Regions from separate parts of the Homo sapiens genome. Here region 1 is linked to region 2. The links are contacts of gene promoters, found by promoter capture Hi-C in blood cells and fetal thymus (Javierre and others, 2016). All regions are on one chromosome and are shown on one strand. The core of a region is centred on a gene start or on the middle of the fragment in contact, and the rest is flanking DNA. Distances in the headings are between cores, read along the strand shown.

The links. Contacts are between HindIII fragments. The CHiCAGO score rates a contact against its expected background, and 5 or more counts as called.
Region 1: a contact is called between a fragment that was not itself captured here and the fragment with the promoter of PRKACG in region 2, in 7 of 17 cell types (erythroblasts, megakaryocytes, monocytes and 4 more). The highest score is 16.4, in erythroblasts.

What each region holds. Positions count from the first base shown.
Region 1 is chr9:68,714,731-68,722,047 of GRCh38, reverse strand. The region is part of intron 1 of PIP5K1B (phosphatidylinositol-4-phosphate 5-kinase type 1 beta); the gene reads right to left. Among named protein-coding and RNA genes, the nearest start is that of PIP5K1B, 13 kb to the right of the region's middle. The HindIII fragment of the contact is 1,078 bases long and covers 1,029-2,106 here.
Region 2 is chr9:69,009,778-69,017,317 of GRCh38, reverse strand. PRKACG (protein kinase cAMP-activated catalytic subunit gamma) reads left to right here and starts at 3,205. Exons shown (of 1, transcript NM_002732.4): 1 at 3,205-4,814. The coding sequence starts at 3,226. The coding sequence ends at 4,281. The HindIII fragment of the contact is 8,295 bases long and covers 1-7,540 here.

The DNA of each region.
Region 1 (7,317 bases), core at 318-2,817, 290 kb after region 2:
CCAAAGAGAATGTGTGCCTGAGAAATCACTTCTAGGGAGGCAGAGTGGGGATCAGTGGGCTCAGAGAGGTCTTCCGAAACAGTAGGCTGTACATGCTATCATGAAAATCTGATGCCATTTCCTTAAACAGAGAAAAGAAAACAACGGAATGAGCCACGCTACAGGGAAATGAAATTGCAAGTGAAGATCAACAAGTGATCTTCTGTCTTCTTCTTACACAATTTCAGGAACATTTCATTTAGTCTCATGGTTTTAATTGCTGGCAAGAGCTCATAATACTGTGTCTTCATCATGGCCTCTTCCACACTTACACACAGCTTCTCTTTAGACTCTCCACCTTCATGTCCTGTATCTCAATCTCATTCGATCTCATGCTCTCCCACAGCCCAGATGATATGACCACAACACAGCCAGTGTCTCCATCATGGATTGATCTTACAGCCACATCCTACCTGGATAGCCCCCAGGTATCTCAAATGCATGTCCAAAATAGGACTCATCATCACAGCCCTCCTGCCTCTGCTACCATATGTACGATGCCTCTACCTGGTATTCTCTCTCAGTTGAGCATCATTCCCCAATCTCTCCAGTCACTCAAGCCAAAAGCCAGAGAATCATCTACTACTACCATTCCCCAAAACTCATATCCAGGTGGTCATCAAGTCCTAGAAATTCTCCCTCTTGAATATCAAATCTACTCACTCTTCCCTATCCACACTACATTACTTCAGGTCCTTTTCATCTCTTCTGTGATTAGTCTCCCTATCTCCAGTCTCTTACCCTTCTAATTCATCCCCTAAACTATTGCTCATGTTGCCATTATGAAACAAAATATGACCTCATCACTTCTCCATCAAACTCTTCTAGTTGTTGCCTCATTGCCTGTAGAAGAAATGTTCAAACTCCTTAGCACAGCTGACAAGATGTCGATGGTCTGGCCCGATACACCTCTCCAGCCCTATCTTATTCCACCCACAGCCACCCTACCCATTATCACATTATACAGCTCCAAAATGCACTAACAAGCTTCATGATGTCATGCTTCATACGTGTTATGCCTGGTATAAAGTAAGAGTTTAAGAAATGGTAGCTGCTATCACTGTTATACAGCTATGACAATGACAACAATGATGATGACAATGATCAACAGTCAACTAGGGCCAGAATGTACCCAAACCAAAGCATTTCAGATTTCAGACACGGTAAAGGATCTAAGGATTTCCTGCCACGGCAGTGACAAAATCATTCTCTAGCAGCAGGTATTACAATTGCTTAAAGCGGGTAGATAGGGAGGTATGGAAGTTATTTGGGAAGTTTCTACACCAGCCCAGGTAAGAGACAGTATTACAATTGCTTAAAGCGGGTAGATAGGGAGGTATGGAAGTTATTTGGGAAGTTTCTACACCAGCCCAGGTAAGAGACGTATCTGGAGACAGAAGTGAGAATAGAAGAGAACATTTTTAAAAAATTGGTAGCTGCACAGAGACAGAGATGACCAAAGTAAAAAGAGTGCTAAAATTTCAAAGGTGGGTTAAAAAAAAAATGAGGGTGTGTTTGATAAAAACAGTATTTGGGAAGGGAGGTGGACTGAATTTTTAAAAGGTGACTGCACAGCTGCAAGTATAGAGTTTGTTCAAAGAGGTAAGAGTTGGGATCAAAAAATCAGCTGAGTAGCAAAGAGACCATGGGGCGTGGGGTTATTAAATTGGTCTAGACTTTTAAAGGTGCAAAAAGCAAGAGACAGAAGAAAGACTGTAATCTGGCAACAAACAAGGCTGCTCCTCGGGGAAGGAACTTGAAGCAGTGGCAAGGCTAGATGCTAGGCTACTGAAATTTTGTAAAGGAAGGGGGAGCTCAGAAGTCAAGGGAAAAACGGTTACAGCTTAAGAATTTGTTTTTATAGCTTAAGAATGAGTTCATTCAACAATGATAATAATACAGGCTGTCTTTGTGCTGGACACTGTTCTAGGTGCTGGAGACAGTGTAGTAAACAGAACAAAGTTCCTGCTCTTGTGAAACTTTACCTTTCAGTAAGGAGGCGGACAAATGAAGAAACAAACAAAAATGTAAGGTCAGAAAGTGCTGCTGCTGATCATTTCTAAAGCTTCCAGGCACATGTGTAGGATACTTAGCATTCAGTTCTAAAATGCTTCCAGAAGTCTTTTGACATATGTGGAAAAGACTATTCCTTCTATAAAGTTTACACAAAATGAAATGATGCATCATGTTTGCATTATAAATTGTCATGTAGGAGAGGGAGTTTCTGAGAAACTGCTAAACTAAATAATGAAGCCCAACTGTACAGACATCTTAAAAGCTGAATTTCCATTCTGTTTCCTATAAACAAATGTAAACAAAAGTCGTGTTTCTCTCTTAACCCTTAGCAGGAGAGACTGATTTCCCATTTGTTTCAGTTTCCATAATCTTCACAACTGAGTCTGAACAACACATCTTGAAAAAAATAAAAGGGCATCATTTAAATACAGCTTGCCACAGCAATGACACCGTTGCTTCTTTTTGTTCCCATACAATGCAGTCGTAAACCTCAGAACAGTCTGGTTCACATCACTCCTTAAAAATAAGTTAATTTTTCAGTATTCAGCTTCCTTGTTTTATTGTGGATATTGAACTTGTTTTCCAATGGAAGATGGAAATCAGGAAAATCTGGGGAACTTTGCTATGCAGTTTCTCCAAGGAAAAGAGAAATGCAGTAATCTATAACCTTTAAAGGCATAAAGCATTGCAAATAAAGCTGTTACCAAAATACTCATCAATTGCCACTATGTTTAACTTAAATGAAAAAGTCTATGAAATCCTGCTTTAGACCATAATATAGTAAACACATTATCAATATGTTACAAAAAGAAAGAAAAAAGAAAGCATGCCTATCACAGCCTGAAAAGGTATCACTTTATCTGAACAACCCAAAAACAGGGCAGAAGAAAACATGCTATTGGCTAATGAATGAAGCGAACAAGAAAGAACTAAAGCTTGCTTGCTTTACCAGTAGAACTCTTGAAGACCTCCCTCAAATACTACTTTTGATCCTTTTTTAAAATTTCAGTTTCAATGGATAATATGACTCTATCTGGCAAACACATTTCAGACAGTATGGTTATCTGGTTCCCAAAATCACAATGGACTTTCAATAGCCAACAATGAGTGAAGGGGCTCACTGCTGAGAGCCACAGAAGTAGGGCCAAAAAAAAAATTATCAAGAAAAAGCAGACAAGATTTTAGAAGACAGCAAAGTAGGGCCATTTGGTTTAGGGGCAAAGAGCCTTGCATTCCTGAATGAATACTAAATCTATCACTTTACAGTAGCATAAAAGACACACTCTGTTCTGTATAATCTTTTAAAGAATCAGGGACAGATGAGACAATGCTGGGAAAATTTTCTATACAAAACTTGGCCATAATAATTGCTGGCAGTTAAAGGAGCAAGCAATCAGGAAATGTTTTCTAGAAGTAAAACAGCCTGCCCAAAGGTTCTGCATAGCCAAGGGTTCCCTATTTTGAGCCCCTTCAATTTTGTGCTTCAGTGGCCAATGAAAATGAGCAGGCTTAATGTCTGAAGGAATTTCAGGAAGAAAAAAACTACACCGTCAAATTATTCTTTATTCTTCACATATTTTTAAAGTCAGAGATTGTTTTCCTTACAGTATTTAGGTTCTTACTAAAATAAATTAGTGTGAACTTTAGGGTGAGCACTATAGGAAAAAATACAGACATTTCCCAGGTTAAAGGCCATGTTTGATGATTGAAGCTTACATATGTTTTATGACAGACAAGGCAGCCATCTGAGTCACTTTTGTCCAACTCAAAGTTCTATCATATGTCTACTCTCCAAGTTTTACTATGCCTTCTTGATAAAACTTTGCAAGGGGAGTCTTTAGGGGGTTTTAAACTCACAACTTTCTGTGGTTTCATAGGAGTGGACAGAGCACTATATGTGGAGTCCTGTCAGCTCCTCAGTAAATGCACACCTCTAGGCTGACACACATCATAGGCAGTGCCAGGGGGATGGCAGATTGCACTCATGCTTTCTAAATAAATTGCAGGTCTCTGCCCTTCAGTAGGGAGTAAAGTCAATTCAGTGGCTCATGACCAGTGTATGGTGGAAGTTGGAGTTGGGAGGGAACACAACAGAAAATAACAGAGGACATTTCATGTGGTATGGCTAAGTACTGTTTCATGAAACCTTTATTTCTGTTATATGTATTATTTATATCTCTACGTATATACTAGGTTTCAACACAGGATGTGTTTCTTATAGCACACTGACTGGGCTACAAAGGACTATCCAAGGTACTGAATGTATCCCCCTCAAAATTCATATCAAAATCCTAACCCCAAGATGATGGTATTAGGAGGTGATTAGGTCATAGGGTGGGATTCGGGCTCTTATAAAGGAGATCCCAGAAAGCTCTTTCTCCCTCTTTCTGTCACATGAGGGTACTAGAAGAAGTTTGCCATCTGTAAGCTGGAAGAGAGCCCTCTCCAGAACCTGATCATGCTGGCACCTGATCTTGGACTCTTAGCCTCCAGAACTATGAGAAATAAACTGTTTTTGTTTATGAACCACCCAGTTTTTGACACTTTGTTATGACAGCCTGAACCACCTAAGACAAGTTGGTATTTTTCTCTTATTTACAGTTCAAATTTGACTAACTGGAAAAGCTATGTGCAAAGATTAAATGCAAGCTTGGGTTATGCCAACTTATATTAACCAGTTTTTATAGGATGCTACCGTCCAGTCTCTTATTCTATTCTAAAAATACCTGGATCATAAAAGAGAATCTTTTTTTCAGATTTTAGATTCAGGGGTTACACATGCAGGTTTGTTACCTGGATATATTGCATGATGTTGAGGATTGGGCTTCAATTGAACCCATCACCCAAGTAGTGAACACAGTACCTGACAGGTAGTTTTTCAACCCTTACCTCCCTCCTTCCCTGTCCCCTTTGGAGCTCCCAGTATCTACTGTTCCCAATTTTATGTCCATGTGTACCCAATGGTTAGCTCACACTTATAAGTGAGAACACGCGGTATTTGGTTGCTTCTGTGTTAATTTGCTTAGGATAACGGCCTCCAGGTGCATCCATTATGCTACAGAACATGATTTTGTTCTTTCTTATGGCTGCATAATATTCCATGGTGTATATATACCACATTTTCTTCATCCAATCCATCATTGATGGTCACCTAGGTTGATTCCTTGTCTTTGCTATTATGAATAGCGCTGCAATGAACGTGTGAGTGCAGGTGTCTTTCTGATAAAACAATTTATTTTCCTTTGGGTATATATCCAGTAATGGGATTGCTGGGTTGAATGATAATTCTATTTTCAGTTCTTTGAGAAATCTCCAAGATTTCTCACTGTTTTCCACAGTGGCTGAACAAATTTGCAAACCAAGCAATCGTGCATAAGCGCTCCCTTTTCTCTGAACCTTGCCAGCCTATGTTATTTTTTGACTTTCTAATCATAGCCATTCTGACTGGTATGAGATGGTATCTCATTGTGGTTTTGATTTGCACTTCTCTGGTGATTAGTGATGATAAGCATTTTTTCATGTTTCTTGGGCACTTCTATGTCTTCAAGGAGAATGCTTTAGCCTCCAACTAACTTCTTCCTTAACAACTGCTTCCCTCTTAAATAATTAGGTTCTATTAGCTTTTATATTTAGAATAAATGTTATATTCTGTGATGGGAGAGATCAGACAAACCTATTTAAGTCAAGTTATATGTTATGGCATCCCTTTTAAGTTGAAGCCATATAGTTCTCCATAGATGTGCAGAGCAAGTCAGATGTAACTGGCTGTATCCTTGAAGACAGGAATTCTTTTCAGGACAACCCCCTTTCAACTGCATGTCCATATTCTTTCCTCTAAATAATCATTCCCATTCCTTCACATCTCTTGCTCTGCTTTCCTTCCTTTTACTTTTACAATTCTAATTTTTAAAATAAGTAATCCACACATATGGGTCCAAATTCAGAGGTACAAATAAATATGGGATGAAAATTCCCCTCCCATCCATGCCCCTCAGCTAGCCAATTCACCTCCCCAGAGGCAAACAAAGACACTAGTATCTCAGGTATTCTTCCAGAAATATTTTATATCATGCCTTTGGGGCAACCTTCCTTGGGGATAATACCTGCAGCTACCATTATAGAAATGCGGCTCATGACAGGTGAAATTAGGCAGTGGTAATGAAAGTTGAAGATCAAGTTCATGGACAGGATCGGCAATATGAAGTGGTTCATTCATGATCTCTGTGCATTTCCTTTCTTTAGTGGGAATTTACGAAAAGGATTTTTTTAAGGTAGAAGTATTGGTATTCATTTACTTATTCACTCAAGACAATTCTACATGTGCCGACACTATGGGGATGCAATGGGCCCTGATGATTAGCAGCTGGTGGGGGCGAGGAAACTAGTCAAATAATCATACTGTTGAAGCCCTCCTGGAGAGGGAACCACTGGTCCTGTCCTAGACTGGGGATGGGTGGCCAAGGCCTCCTTTCAAAAGTAACCTTAGAATTGACCTGAAGCGTGGTCGACCGATGCTGAGAACATTCCAAAGGGGGCAACGAGAGTGCTGCACAGAGGGTGTGAAGCTGGCAGTTGCAAGTGTGGCTCAGAAACAGCAAGGGGCAGAGTGGTGGATCTGAGACTGGAGTGGCAGCAGGACCAGGACCGTGCAGGGCTCTGGAACCATGTCAATGACCCACATCTTCACTCCAGGCACAAAGGGAGGCCATTGAAGAGTCTGGGGCAGATCCCTGTGCTTCTCTCTGTCCAGCACCCCCAGCCCCAGGCCCCACTCCTTGGTCAGGAAGTTTTTCCTGCACCCATGTCAACTGGTTCCTGTTATGAGGAAATACAGAGAGAATGATTTTGAGTCATGTTTCTTTATCTATCCTGCCAGTTATGCAAAGCAACCCAGGCCTTTTCCTCAAAGCTGCCAGGATAAGCCACAGTCAACAGTCAGAGACAGGTGCCTTTTGGGAGAGGCTTAGATTTTATTCCTAGACCACAGGTGGTGAATTTCTCTGCTATGGTGGCCACAAATGTGATATTGCAGGGTCCTGGGGGAACTCAGGGGCAGAGTATAAGCAACTGTGGAAGTAGAGCAGTCTTTGGTTCTTTGTTGGAGTGAGTGGAGTGCACCTTGGGAACTGCCGGAGAACTCTTAAGAACTTGGTATTTGCGGTAGGGTTGGGCAAGTCCCTAGAGCTACACTGGAGTTTCCATCCTGTTCCTTTAAAAGTAGTTGACTGTAGTTATGAACCTGCCTCTGACTGGACTCCAGGA
Region 2 (7,540 bases), core at 1,956-4,455:
AACTTTAAATAAATGTAGTACTTTATAAATTATTGTCATTAAGTTATTTCTGAACTTCCTGACTCCCATAATTTTTCATCTTTCATATAACAAAGGCCACGCCAATTTTTAAATCAGCATTTTATAGATCATAAATCTGACATAGAAACTTTGTGTTCAAAAATGTTCTTTTACAATATTCTGCTAATAAGGAGAAAACAAACTATTAATAGAAGCTGGCTTGTCAAAATCCAGGTATGATAAGTATTTCTGGACCAGAACATGCAGTGTTATGTAAATAATTCCCTGAGTGATAGAGATTTGTAGTTTATTTCTTATTTGAATCCTGGTGGAGTTTGTTCTTTTCTTTGCTCCCATCAATATTTTGGAGATAGAGAGGAAGTTAGAATTGAATGATCCAAGCCTTATGCAATTAGCCATTTGGAAACTGCTATATAAACAGTAAAGAGGAGAATCAGCTGGCATGACTGCCAGTGAGCAGTTTTTTGGGAGAAGAATGGTCTTGATTGCCTTTCATTGGGCATACAGGAAAGCAGAGTTGGCTTTCACCTCTTCATTTGGCCCCCTAGGCAAGCTCCAAGCAGATCATGCAGAGGTATTGTATCTTGCTACACAAATCTTTTCCTTCTGAAAGGGTTTATCTGAATGCAAAAGGATTCCTGTTTCCTTGGCATGCTAAGGACTCCCTTGCTCCCCAAGGCCATGGAGAAAAGCAGAACGGAAAGTGGAGAGAAATAACAAATGTAATTATTCTGCAGCTTGTTCTGGGATAAATACTTGATGTTCTGACCTGTAAACGAAGCATGGGGACATTTCTAGTGTGCAGCATATGTTCCCTCTAGACCCCTGTGTCTTCCTAATTGAACTTCAGAGATTAATGCCACAAGAATTTGTCATGGAATGGCACAGCCTGCTTCTAAACAAACTGTCCCACTTCCAAGGCGTCGGTCCAAGAGAATGGCTTCCCACTAATTGCTCTTTGTGTATAAATTTCTACTGAATAATCTGGAGGTAAGTCAGAAATGGGCAGAATTTTAGCAGATCTACTGTGATGAAAATGAAGAGGAAATCACTGAGATTATGGGGGAGACGTGGAATTTCCATCTGCCAGGGATTTGCCTTGACCCAAAGCACAAGGGGCAATTGACCCCCCTGCTATGTTCTTGAGGGAATGTGGGTTTCCCTTTTGTGGAAGTTCAGATGATCAACAGTAGATTTTTCTCCTTTCCTCTTCTTCCTCTCTAACCTGACCGTCTCTGAATATACAGTCAGTACCCAAGTACTGGCCCCAGATTAAACCGTAAACTCGGAACCAGGCCTTGCACACAATAGACACCTGCTTGACCAACATCTGCTGAACTGAGCGGCAAGAATTCACAGTCACAATAGAAACCTTCTACTTGGAGTCAAGTAATCAGGGATTCCTCTCCAATTTGCTTGGTTTCAGCCTGCAGGGCTAGGTGAAAGTGTGTTGTTTACTTGCACTAGCTACAGGCGGTGTAGCCAGGGTGGGTAGGCAGAATTAGCTGTCAAACTTAAAGGGCAAGATGGAGAGAAAATAGGAGGATAAATGGGTATTCCTGTAGCTCAGTGTTTATGATGTAGGACAGAATCTTTGTACAGAATTGACTGGGGAGAGCAGCTCAGAACCCACCCTGTGATGGCTGAGTGCTGGCAGTCTTCTGGAGGGTGTGTGGGGCGGCTGACATGGTGGCCTGGGGGAGTGATGGAAGGCCCATCATCTATGTACTTTGACTTCTCATAAACTCCTGTGGCATGTTTTTAATAATTGATAGAATAAGTAAACAGAAAGTCAATAAGAATATAGAAGACCTGAACACTACTACTAGCCAACTTGACCTAAGTGACATTTGTAGAACACTGTATCCTCAAACAGCAGAATACACCAGAATATACATTCTTCTCAAGTGCATATGGGCCATCTACCAAGATAGATCATATTCTGGGCCATAAAATGAGCCCCAAGAAGTGTAAAACATTTTAGGTCACACAGAGTATGTTTTCTAACAATGGAATTAAATCAGAAATCAATAGGAAAATTCTTGAAAAATCCCCAAGTATTTGGAAACGAAATAATATACTTTTAAATAGCTTATCTGTCAAAGAAGATGAAAAGGGAGCTTAGAAAATATTTTGAGCTGGATGAAAAGGAAAATACAACATACCAAAATTTGTGGGATGCTGCAAAAAATAATACTTAGGAGGAAATTTATAGCACTAAGTGATTGTAATAGAAGAAAGATTTCAAATCAGTGACCTTAGTTCCCACCTTAGGAAATAAGAGCAATTAAACCCAAAGCAAACAGAAGAAAGGAAATCATATGTATGTGTTAAAATAAAACATTACATGCAGTAAAACTGAATTTTGGGGGGAAGTATACAGTTCTTTGAGGTGTTTGTTTGTTTGTTTGTTTGTTTTTGAGATGGAGTTTCACTCTTATTGCCCAGGCTGGTGTGCAGTGGCACGATCTCTGCTCACTGCAACCTCTGCCTCCCAGGTTCAAGCAATTCTCCTGCCTCAGCCTCCCGAGTAGCTGGGATTACAGGCATGCGCCACCACGCCTGGCTAATTTTTTTGTATTTTTAGTAGAGACGGGGTTTCACTATGGTGGTCAGGCTGGTTTCGAACTCCTGACCTTGTGATCCGCCCGCCTCGGCCTCCCAAAGTGTTGGGATTACAGGCTTTAGCCACTGCGCCCGGCCAGTTCTATGAGTTTTAAAACAAATGTAGACCACCACCCAATACATTGTAACCACCAGCACAATCAGGATACAAACATGTCCCACCACTTCCCACATTCCCTCAGGCTGTCCCTTCATAGTCCAACCGTCCCCTAACCCCAAGCCCTGGCAATCACTGATCTGTTCTCTCACACTATAGTTTTGCCTTTTCTGGAATGTCATAGAAATGGATTCATACAGTAAGTCTCCTTTAGAGTTGGCTTCTCTCACTTGCATAATGCCTTTTGGATTTATCCATATTGTTGAGTGCAGCGGCGTGATCTTGGCTCACTGAAGCCTTGACCTCCCAGGCTCAAGAAATCCTCCCATCTCAGCCTCCCATGTAGCTGGGAATATAAGCGGAGGCCGGGCGGGGGTCGCAGCGCCGCAGCCAGCGCAGCCAGCCCCAGGGGGCGCCATCTCCGCCGCTGCCGCCGCCGCCGCCGCCGCCGCGAGACCCCCGCCCCTGCCGCCGCCACCGCCATGGGCAACGCCCCCGCCAAGAAGGACACCGAGCAGGAGGAGAGCGTGAACGAGTTCCTAGCCAAAGCCAGAGGAGATTTCCTCTACAGATGGGGAAACCCCGCTCAAAACACCGCCAGCTCGGATCAGTTCGAACGGCTCAGGACGCTGGGCATGGGCTCCTTCGGGCGGGTGATGCTGGTGAGGCACCAGGAGACCGGCGGCCACTACGCCATGAAGATCCTCAACAAGCAGAAGGTGGTGAAGATGAAGCAGGTCGAGCACATACTGAACGAGAAGCGCATCCTGCAGGCGATCGACTTTCCGTTCCTCGTCAAGCTCCAGTTCTCCTTTAAGGACAACTCCTACCTGTACCTGGTGATGGAGTACGTGCCGGGTGGGGAGATGTTCTCCCGCCTACAGCGCGTCGGAAGGTTTAGCGAGCCCCATGCCTGTTTCTATGCCGCCCAGGTCGTCCTGGCCGTCCAGTACCTACACTCGCTCGACCTCATCCACCGCGACCTGAAGCCCGAGAATCTCCTCATCGACCAGCAGGGCTACCTGCAGGTGACGGACTTCGGTTTCGCCAAGCGCGTGAAGGGCCGCACTTGGACCTTGTGCGGGACCCCAGAGTACCTGGCCCCCGAGATCATCCTGAGCAAAGGCTACAACAAGGCCGTGGACTGGTGGGCCCTAGGGGTGCTCATCTATGAGATGGCCGTGGGCTTCCCACCCTTCTACGCCGACCAGCCCATCCAGATCTACGAGAAGATCGTCTCTGGGAGGGTGCGGTTTCCCTCCAAACTCAGCTCTGACCTCAAGCATCTGCTGCGGAGCCTGCTGCAGGTGGACCTCACCAAGCGCTTCGGAAACCTCAGGAACGGGGTTGGCGACATCAAGAACCACAAGTGGTTCGCCACAACCAGCTGGATCGCCATCTATGAGAAGAAGGTGGAAGCTCCCTTCATCCCGAAGTACACAGGCCCTGGGGATGCCAGTAACTTTGACGACTACGAGGAGGAAGAGCTCCGGATCTCCATCAATGAGAAGTGTGCCAAGGAGTTTTCTGAGTTTTAGGGGTGTGCTTGTGCCCCTGTGGGTTTTCTTTCCTTTTTGTTTTTGGTGGTTTGGGGGATGGGAGGGTTGGATTGAACAGCCAGAGGGCCCCAGAGTTCCTTGTATCTAATTTCATCCTCACCCCACCCTCCAGGGTTGGGGGAGCAGGAAGCCCAGATATTTGGAGGAACAGAAACACCAGCTGCTCCCTCACCCCCCCCCATGCCTTCCTGGTCCCTCTGTGCTTCTCTCTTTCTCCTCCCACAGGGTCCCCCTTGCCCCAGCCCCCTTCTGCCTGTTTTAAACGAGTTTCTCAGCTCTATTCAGGCCAGGTCTTGCTGTTGTATCAAGGGACACGGTGTGGAAAGAGGGGCTCAAACTTAACTCCAGCCCTGAACAGGCACCACTTACTAAGAGAGGATGAATGAAAAGCACACCTACCCTTTGGCGTAATCCTGCCTGGGAAGGAGAGAGGTTTAGTGCCATGTTCAGTGGGCTGTTTGCTAGAATAAAAAATTAAAACAAAAAACAATTAAAATCTTATTTAAGTTCCACCAGTGTCCCCTTTCCTCCTTCCTCTACTTCCACCCCTCCCACCCTTCCCACCTTACCGTGTCTCCCCATTCCATTTTAACAAATCCAGGAAGCCGACTGACTTTGGAAGGAGGCTCTGGGGTTTGAACTTCCCCCATGAACTGCTGATTTCCCCCTCCCCCCTCCCCAGGGGCATCCTCTATCACTCTTGCAAAGGTCTCAGTTCTTTTAGGAAGCTCCACTCTCTTCTTCCCCAGCAGACTTTTCTTCACCCTTGGGCTTTGGGAGCCAGAAAAGCAGCTGCCCTACTCCCTGCCAAAGAGGAGTTGTCCCCCAAAAAGACAGAGTGGGAGTTCCAAGCCCAAGTCTTTCTTCACAGCAGCATTTCCCCGAAACTCCTTAATTTTATTCTCAGCCAGATTGTGATGCCCAGCCTCTCCTTATGGGAAGGCAGTCCTGCAAAAGGACATGGAAGAGGCCCAGCCCCTCCACCCCCACCTCATCGCCCAGGGTTCAAGGCTAGGGTTGCTGGGGAGGGGCTGCCTGTTTTATTCACCCAGCAGCTTCTGCCTTCTCCCATCCTGGGTGCCCCTCTCCAGCTTAGCTGTCAGCCATCCTTCACCTCTTCTCCCCTGCCACCCCGTGCTGTTTTCAATTTTTTTTTTTTTTTGACATGAAGTCTCACTCTGTCACCCAGGCTGGAGTGCAGTGGTACAATCTCAGCTCACTGCAACCTCCGCCTCCCGGGTTCAAGCGACTCTCCTGCCTCAGCCTCCCGAGTAGCTGGGATTACAGGGGCCCACTACCATCCCCGGCTAATTATTGTATTTTTAGTAGAGACGAGGTTTTGCCACATTGGCCAGGCTGGCCTTGAACTCCTGACCTCAGGTGATCCAGCTGCCTTGGCCTCCCAAAGTGCTGGGATTATAGGAGTGAGCCACCGTCCCTGGTCTGTTTTCTTTCTTAATAGAAAAGTGAGGAGCTGCTGGCAAGCCACCTCATTCATCTTCATATTTCCCCCTCTCATCACTTCTCCCCATCCCAGGAGGAGCTCTCAGGCCTGGGGTGGGTCCCCAGGTGGGCTCAGGGTGATTCAACCTGCTTGCTGTGAAAAGATGAGATTTCCTCTTGAACAGTGTGCTGTTGTAAACATATGTCAAAACTATTACCAATAAGGCCGGGTGCTGTAATCCCAGCACTTTGGGAGGCCAAGGCAAGTGGATCACTTGATGTCAGGAGTTTGAGAACAGCCTGGCTAACATTGCAAAACCTCGTCTCTACTAAAAAATACAAAAATAGCTGGGCGTAGTGGCATGCACCTGTAATCCCAGCTACTTGGGAGACTGAGGCAGGAGAATCGCTTGAACCTGGGAGGCAGAGGTTGCAGTGAGCCGAGATCGCATCACTGCACTCCAGCCTGGGTGACAGAGTGAGACTCTGTCTCAATACAACAAAACAAAAAACCAACTATTACCAATAAAGTTTTGTTAAAAAAGAACTGGCAAAACTAATCTATGATGCTGGAAGTCATAATAGTGACCTTTGAGGATGGCATTGGTGGAGAGGGGACATGAAAGAGCCAGCAGGTGGCCAGGCACGGTGGCTCACGCCTGTAATCCCAGCACTTTGGGAGGCCAAGGCGGGCGGATTACGAGGTCAGGAGTTCAAGACCAGCCTGGCCAACATGGTGAAACCCTGTCTCTATTAAAAACACAAAAAATTAGCCAGGCATGGTGGCAGCTGCCTGTAATCCCAGCTACTCGGGAGGCTGAGGCAGGGGAATTGCTTAAACCCGGGATGCAGAGGTTGCAGTGAGCTGAGACTGCACCACCGCACTCCAGCCTGGGCGACAGAGCGAGACTCTGTCTCAAAAAAAAAAAAAAAAAAAAAGCCAGTAGGTTAGCTGCAAATGTTTTCTATGCGCTTTAGGTGCTGGGCACATGGGTCTACACATATGTAAAAATTCACTGGACTATACAATTCATAGCTGTGCACTCTAGCATATGTAAGTTATACCTCAGTCATTAAAAAACGGTTGAAAATGTTGAGGTTTTTTGAGACAGGTGAGACAACACAGGCAGGCCACGGGTGATTCAAGTGGGGATAGAGTTTTGAGGATCACAGCCTCATGGTATTGAAACGGCTTTTGAGTTAGGTCTTAAAATAAAGGTTCTTAACATTTCTTGGGTCCAGGTCACTGTGAATTTGATAAAAAGTATAGTCTTTCTCTTCATGAAAAAAAAAACACCCCATATACACAAAAGCATACCCAACTTGTGTATATGATTTCATGGCCCTATTAACATTTATCTATGACTCTTCTAGAAATCAGTGGGTCCTAGGCTAAGAACCCTGCTTAAATGGGTAGATTTACAAATGGGAGGGGGGAAGAGTGGGATTCACCTATGAAAACCCATGTAGTAAGGGAGAGTGGTAGCACATATGAATACTAGAGAGAGGCAGAGGATCCTCAATCATCCACTTCTGCAGAATTCCCTGTTGACATCCTAACCTAGGATGTAAGACATCCTAGCTTTCCAGCACTGACTCTGCAGGTGAAACTGCTACTTATGCTGAGTAACTATGGCTCTGGGCTACATTTACAAAAGTTTACAGCATGCTTGCTTACAAGAATCAGCTTGTTTTAACTCGAAGTATTTAACACTGAGCATCTTACTCATCAGGAATATCTTTCTGCAGCCTTGATCATTTTGCTTTCTAATGATTTTTCTCTCAACCTCTTATG